Regions from separate parts of the Homo sapiens genome. Here region 2 is linked to region 1. Evidence: promoter capture Hi-C in 16 types of primary human blood cells and fetal thymus (Javierre and others, 2016). All regions are on one chromosome and are shown on one strand. The core of a region is centred on a gene start or on the middle of the fragment in contact, and the rest is flanking DNA. Distances in the headings are between cores, read along the strand shown.

Region 1 (3,633 bases), core at 698-3,197:
CTGGGGCCTGGACTCCAGGGTCTGAGGGAGGAGGGGCTGGGGCCTGGACTCCAGGGTCTGAGGGAGGAGGGGCTGGGGCCTGGACTTCAGGGTCTCAGGGAGGAGGGGCTGGGGACTGGACTCCTGGGTCTGAGGGAGGAGGGGCTGGGGCCTGGACTCCAGGGTCTGAGGGAGGAGGGGCTGGGGCTTGGGCTTCTGTCTGGGATAGGAGGGCCACATGGTCCTGAAGGAGTAGGTTGGAGCCAAGACTCCACAGACCTGCACACAAAGGGTGTTAGGGGCCAGGAGTCCCACGAACCATATATAATTGGGTAAGGACAGCCATATTGGACGCCTGGGTCCCGAGCAGAAGAGGGGATAGAGGCTGTACTGCTGAATTCCGGGACTAGAAACCTCGCATCCTTGGGAGCCGGTACCTGCAGCTCCGCGAAGCCCAGCCCGGCCAACTCCAGCGGCTGGCAGCGGGTGCTCAGAGCGCGCCCCTTCTCTCCGCGCCGCTCCTCCGCCTCTCGCTCCAGCTCTTGCTTTGCAATCTGCAGCAGCAGAGTCTGCAGAGGGGTGGGAGGGAAGCGCAGCCCACCCGGGGCTTCAGGATAAAGACCAGGCGTGGGGAACCGCCTCTGCCCTTCTAAACCCTCCAGTTTGGTCTCCACTGTTCCAAGGCCCCGTCCCACCCCGAGCAGTACTCCCCGCTAAAGCCACGCCCCGAGCGGCCAAACCCCGCCCACTTCCGCCCACCTACCCCGAAAGCCCCACCCATTCTCAAGCTCCGCCCCCTGAGCACCTGCCTGCTCTTTCCCAGTCCCGCCCGTCCTCACCTTCAGCTGCAATTTTCTCGAGGCGGAGATCTTAGATTTTTTCTGCCAGGGTGAGATGGAGCAAGGAAGGATCATGGAGGGGGATTCGGAGACGACGGTGGAGGGGACCTCAAGACACCCCCAGCAAACCCAGCCGGTCCAGATTTGGGCCCACGTCCAACTTGAGCCCTGAGTCTACGGGAGGCCACGCCCCTCATTCCCATCCACCAATCTGGGTCTCTTCCTTTGGATAGGCACTTCCCATCTATCCCTAAGCAAGTCCGAGGGCAACGGAGTTCCGCCCGCAGGCTGCTGTCACCAATCCGAGCATGACCCTCTGCAAAACTCCGCCCCTGAAGCCCCTCCGCGTAGTCCCCGCCCCCTTCGCAGCCCTGGCTCCTCCCCCCACTCCCAGGGTCTTGGATCCCTCCGGCGCCTGTACTCTGCCCCCAGGAAGCCCCGTCCCACCTTGGCGTGCGGCTCCGTGGCATAAGCGCGGTAGTTGGAGGAGCGGCGTCTGATTGGGGCTGGTGCAGGGCGAGGTTCCCTAGCCTGGGTTAGGAGGAGTGGGGACCCCATCACCACCAAGACCCCACCCAGCCCTTACCGTACCGCACCCTCTGCTAGGGCTGCAGCCTCCCGCCCCAGACCCCTCACTGCAGCGCCCACCCTGGCCCTGGGGGTCCCAGCCACGCCTTAGCCCGCTGCTCTCACCGCATCGCTGCTCCTGGAAGGAGAGAAACCAAGGAGGGGGGTTAGTGGTGGGCTGTGTCCTGTCTCCTAAGGGACCCCTGGAGTCCCCTCTGAACAAGAGGTCGGGGGACCGCGCTTCCCCTTCCTTGGGTTCCAGGAGTCTGACTCGCAAACCCACTTCCTCTCTTCACCCAAGAGTCCCTACGCCTACCTCGCAGGCCAAGGGTCCAGCCTCTCAGCTGCGACCCCTCTTGGGAACCCGGGAGGTCGCCCCCAACTCCCACTGCCTTGGGGCATCACTCACCCATCCGCCATGCTGAGACTCAGGCCGGGAATGGCAGGAGGCAGGGCGAGGACAGGGGCGTTTGGAGGGTCAGTGAGGGGGCCGCCCGGGTGACCTTCAGGGTCCCAGGGACCGTCAGTCTCCTCCGGGCTGCTTGAGACTCCCCGAGGACACTGAGATAAAGGGCGAGGACACAGACTAAATATACTGTCACCTCCTCCTCCCCCTGCCCACTATGCCAGATAACGGGGGCGCGTGAGGGGCGGGGTGGGCCCTGCTCCAGCTGGATCACCAGCCACCTCCGGGCACAGGAATCCGGACCCTCCTCCCTCTGATCCTGGAGTCCTAGACCCCTCCTCCCTCAGACCCAGAGAATGCCCGACCTCCCAACCTCCTCCTCCCTCAGTCCCAGGACCCTGGGAGACCCTGGCCACTCCCTCACACAAGGAGTCCAGGCCCCCAGCCCCCTTTTCCCTCAGACTCAAGTGTCTGGGCCCCCAGCTCCTCTTCCCTCAGACCCAAGAGTCCAGGCCCCCAGCCCCTCCTCCCTCAGACCCAAGAGTCCAGGCCCCCAGCTCCTCTTCCCTCAGACCCAAGAGTCCAGGCCCCAGCCCCTCCTCCCTCAGACCCAAGAGTCCAGGCCCCAGCCCCTCCTCCCTCAGACCCAGGAGTCCAGGCCCCCAGCCCCTCCTCCCTCAGACCCAGGGGTCCAGGCCCCCAGCCCCTCCCTCAGACAAGGGAGTCCAGGCAGGCCCCCAGCACACTTCCTCTCTCAGACTCAAGAGTCTGCACCCTCAGCTCCTCCTCCCTCAGACCAGGAGTCCAGGACCCCAATCCCTCTCCCCTCAGACCGAGGAGTCCAGGACCCCAATCCCTCTCCCCTCAGACCCAGGAGTCCAGGCCACTCAATAAATGTTGTTGATTAATTTGAGGATGCAGCTGTGCTCGGGGCTAGCTCTCAGTCAATAGCACTGGGAAATCCATCCCTCGTCCACTTGGAAACCCAGGAATCTGGTTTCTGGCTTCCTCTGTCCAGCACTCCTGGGCCTTTCTCTCCCAGCCCTGGAGACGGACATAGGACAGGAAAGACGCTTGGACACACAGAAGGGTGGACACAACTTGCTTTACTTGAACCATCTGGGTGCTGACCAGGCCCTGGTGAGGAGACACCCCAGCCCCTAGTCAGCCACAGGGTGCCTGGGAACAAGGGGGCCAAAGTCAAGGGCCTGAGACTCAGTGTCAGATCCTAGGCTGGGCTTAGAGCCTCAGAAGTGGAATTTGGAATTCTGAGAGAACAATCTAGAATTCTAGGAATAGACCATAGAATCTCAGAAATGGAATTTGAAAGTCTACCAACACTCCCGGGGTGGGGGTGGCGGGTACTGAGTGGGAATGATTAGAATAAAATTGAGGACTCTAGCAGCGGACTTAGAATGGTATCAGCGGGTTCTCATCCTACAACCTGACTTTGGAAGTTGGAGATAAGGGGTGTCTAGGGGTTGGGTCAGACTCCAGTTTTGGAGTCTGACTCACAGTTGGGCGGAGCCAAGGCCCCCTGAGGCTGAGCCAGAACCTCTGAGAGTGAACCTGGAGACTCAGAGGGCAGCTGGCAGGGCTCACAGTGTGGGGTCCCACCCTGCAGAGGCTGGGTCAGGCCCTCAAGGGCTGGGTTGCTGGCTTCAAGAGGCTGGGCCAGGATGTCAAGGGGCGGAGTTCCGGGTTCCACAGCTGGGACAGTGTTGCCCAGAGCTGATTCCTGGGACTTGCAGAAACGTGCGAAGGTCTCTGAAGGCCTGGCCCCGGTCTGTGGAGCAAATCCAGCTGCCTGAGCTAGCTCCCTGACCCGGGTGTTGAATCCCT
Region 2 (3,689 bases), core at 377-2,876, 290 kb after region 1:
TACGGACTGGGCCACTGATAGTTAATGAGCCCTTACCGTGTGCCAGGACCCTGCACGAATCAACTCAGTTAATTACAATCCGAATAGGTGGGGACGATGATTAGTCTCATTGTGCGGACAGGAAACTGAGGAACAGAGACGTTAAGCAACTCATCCACTGTCACATAGCCTGTAGGCTGTGAACTTGGATTTGGAAGTCAGGCTTTTCCACCAGGGCAGAGACCTTGTTTTGTTCACTGGTGTATCCCCAGCTCCTGGCCCACAGAAGGTGCTCAAGAAATATGTGTCGAATGAATGAGAGTCTGGGCTTCTCCCTCTCCCTGCATCACTCCGCAACAGCCGGGCCGGCTCTGGCGCGACTTTCTCAGCCCCTGCCCACCTTCAGCTACGCCGGCGGCCGCCACCTGGGTCTCTGACCACCACGCCCTATCCCTGCAGCCCCTCCTCCTCGGATGGCTCCACCTCCCTTGCTGGGCCCCGCCCCAGGCTCGCAGTCCTCCCGCCCGAGAGCACACGCACCTGGGCACGTTGATATCCCGGTGCGCCCGGGGCGCACGGGACGCCTTGCTGAAGGCCACTTTGGCGCCGACGCCCACGGCCAGGGCGAAGCTGATGACCCCGCACACGACGTAGGCTGTGCTGCCCCCGGGGCCCTCGCCCCCGCGGCCCCCGGCACCCCCAGTCCGGCCCCCTTCCAACCACCCGGCCTGGCCGGGCCCTGGCCCCCCGCCCGCACCCCCAGCGCCCCCGGCGCCCCCAGCTAGCGGCGGCGGCGTGGTGGCCCAGCGCGGCGTGTCGTAGTTGGAGCAGGAGGCCTGCGCCAGGCGCATGTGACGGTGCTCACAGCAGAAGCGGTAGTGGCAGGTGCCACAGCAGAAGCGGTAGGAGCCGGTGCTGCAGTTGAAGGTGGCGTCGTACTGGCCCATGACATCGTAGTAGCCGTGGCAGAGCTCGGCGGGAGGGGGCGCCCGGGCCGCCGCGCCCGCCCCGCCCGCGGGGCCGGTCCTGGTGCCGTTGGCGCCTGGGCTCGCCGCGCCCCCGCCGCCCGTCAGCGCCCCGGTCAGGCGCCGCAGGTGCGCCAGCAGGGCGGGCAGCGGGCCCGCGGGCTCGGCGCTCGTGGCGTTGGACGGGCGCGCCCTGGCCTGGCCGGCGCTAGAGGCCAGGAGTACGAGGAGCAGGAGGGCCGGCATGGGGCTTGCAGGGGGTCGCACTGGGCCGCCAGGCTGCGGGGAGAACGAGAGCAGAGGTTGGAGCGCTGGGCGGGAGAGAAACGGTCAGAGGGTGAGAAACGTAGAGATGGGTGGGCAGAGAGGCTGGGGAGGGCGGGCGGGGGGCGGCAGAGTGTGGGGAGCAACAGGCGCCAGGAGGCAGGAAGGGCGGAGGGAGCTGAGCTGCGTGGGCCCAAGTTGGCCGCCCCACGCGCGGTGGGCGACGATGGGAGAGTAATGGAAACGCGCCCGGGCACGGCTGGGGGAGAGAAATGAGCATGGGCGGACAGAACCGGGATCAGGCGAGAGATGAATGCGGGAGAAGCGATTGGGAGGGTCGACAGACACCAGAGGGGTGTGCAGACATTAGGACGAGGAGCGAGGCGAGGCGCGATGTAAGGAGAAGAAACGGGGGCGGCGAAGAGGAGAGGGCAGGGGAGGCAGCTGGAGGGAGGCGCGCGAAGGGGAGGGGAGGGTGGCGAGGGGAGTGGGGACCGCGGAGGGAGGGAAGGAAGCGAGACAGATGAGGGGTGGGTGGGAAAGGAGGAGTCAGGGAGACGGGGAAGGAGGGAGAAAAGAAGGGGAGGAGGAGGAGGGGGAGGAGAGGGAGGGAGGAGGAGAGAGAGAAGTTGAGAATTTGAGTTTATAGACCAGGCAAGTGGGAAGAGGCAGTGCACGGTTTTTCAACACTGACATTCGGGGACCGATGCTGCTTTGTGGTGAGCGCCTGTCCTGAGCGCTGTAGGATGTTTAGCAGCGCCCTCTCCATGCCAGCAGCACCACATTCCCCCGAGTTGTGACAATGTAAGATGTTTCCAGGCATTGCCAAATGTTCCCCTGGTGGGAGGAGGCCACAGCTGCCCCCGTGGAGAACCACTGACTTACACCCCTATGGTCCTCAGTGCCCCGAAATGCCAATTTCTCTCCCTTAGTTAGATCTGATAATCAAGGGATCTTAGGTGCCCTCCCTCCCTCCCTCTCTCTCCCTCTCTCTCTCTCTCTCCCTGGCATGCACACGCACACACACACCACTGTTACGGCGTCGGGTTTGAAGGGTCTCTGTCCACAGCTGAACCACAACCACAGCAGGGTGGTTCCCCTGCCGACTGGACCTCCTGCCAGCTGCCTGACACTGACAGGCTCTTATCTAAGCTCCCTGTGCCCCAAGTCCCCCATCTGTAAAATGGGGATAAGGATGGTTATCTCTGAGTGGTCAGGAGGATGAACTGAGGGAATATGTGTAAAGAGCTTAGAACAGTGCCTGGCATATTGCAGGTGAAATATGAAAGTGTTTGCTGCTGCTGCTATTTCAGAAGGGAGATACAGGCTGAGAAAGGGTCGTCCGGGTGCGGCGGCTCACGCCTGTAAATCCCAGCACTCTGGGAGGCCAAGGTGGGCAAATTGCTCAAGCAGGAGACCAGCCAGCCTCGCCAACACAGCAAAACCGTGTCTTTACAAAAAAAAAAAAAAAAAAAATTAGCCCGGCGTGGTCGTGCGCACCTATAGTCCCAGGTACTCAGGACGCTGAGGTGGGAGGATAACTTGAGTCCCAGAGATCAAGGCTGCTGGGAGCTGTGATTTCACCACCGCACTCCAGCCTGAGTTGACAGAGTGAGACCCTGTCTCAAAAGAGAGAGAAAAGGTGATGCAGAAGAGAGGTGGGAGTTGGTGGTGGTGGTGGTGGGCACGTCTTCCAGCTGTTTCTATGGCAACAGTCCAGCCAAGTCCCAGACACGCCCACCCCCGTGGACCTAGAGGGATGATAGAGGTGGGAAGGATGCCTGGCCTCGGGTTCCGGGAGAAGGAAACGTCTGAGCTCTACCTGCAGGAGGAACCCCCCAGGGGTCTGGGGTGACTGCCCACGGAGTCTTACATTTCCTCTCTGCAAGAACCTGATCTGAACAGCCCCTGCCCTGAGCTAGCTGCCGAGAGGCTGCCATAGAGCTTCCCAGGAGCAGGCATGATGCGCGGGGTGTGCATTCGTTCTGCAAATCTTCATTCAATAAATGTCTCCTGAGCAGCCTCCCTGGGCTGAGGATGCAGCAGTGAGTAAGCCCACAGGGTTCCTGCCTTTACGGGGGTTTACGTGCTAGTGAGGGGGGACAGTCAGCAGATGGACACAAATGAATGGGACACATGTTGACGCCAATTGTGAAGAAATAAAAAGGAATGATGAAGGAAGCCGTGAAGAAATGAAAGCAGCATAAAGGGATGGAGGGGGTGGATGGGATTGAGTCAATAAATATCACTCGGTGTTATTTTCTATTATATGCCACCATCCATCGTGTGTGTGTCTAGGGACCACACCACTGTCAACAACATTGCTGCTGGTGGGGATGGGCAGAGGGTTGGAAGGTGAACCTTCCAGAGCCTCAGTGAGCTCCATCGCCCTCCTGCTTGGGGCCTCACCTTTCCTTTTCAGCTCCAGCTTGGACCCCTCCCCTGACTCGGTGCTAGAATACCCCACTGCCCACTGGACAC

What was found. The method cuts DNA at HindIII sites, captures the fragments that hold promoters and counts their contacts. A CHiCAGO score of 5 or more calls a contact.
Region 2: the fragment with the promoter of SHISA7 here is called in contact with the fragment with the promoter of TNNI3 in region 1 in 15 of 17 cell types (total CD8 T cells, activated CD4 T cells, naive CD4 T cells and 12 more); the score reaches 13.0 in total CD8 T cells.

What each region holds. Positions count from the first base shown.
Region 1 is chr19:55,155,785-55,159,417 of GRCh38, forward strand. It overlaps TNNI3 (troponin I3, cardiac type), which reads right to left and starts at 1,948. Exons shown (of 8, transcript NM_000363.5): 1 at 1,795-1,948; 2 at 1,512-1,524; 3 at 1,266-1,349; 4 at 819-860; 5 at 417-548. The coding sequence starts at 1,805. It overlaps DNAAF3 (dynein axonemal assembly factor 3), which reads right to left. Exons shown (of 12, transcript NM_001256715.2): 12 at 2,881-3,633. The coding sequence ends at 3,278. It overlaps DNAAF3-AS1 (DNAAF3 antisense RNA 1), which reads left to right and starts at 3,525. Exons shown (of 4, transcript XR_007067345.1): 1 at 3,525-3,633. RefSeq lists an enhancer at 1,139-1,726. The HindIII fragment of the contact is 18,804 bases long and covers 1-3,633 here.
Region 2 is chr19:55,441,674-55,445,362 of GRCh38, forward strand. SHISA7 (shisa family member 7) reads right to left here and starts at 1,627. Exons shown (of 4, transcript NM_001145176.2): 1 at 520-1,627. The coding sequence starts at 1,190. RefSeq lists an enhancer at 319-947 and a silencer at 441-530. The HindIII fragment of the contact is 48,275 bases long and covers 1-3,689 here.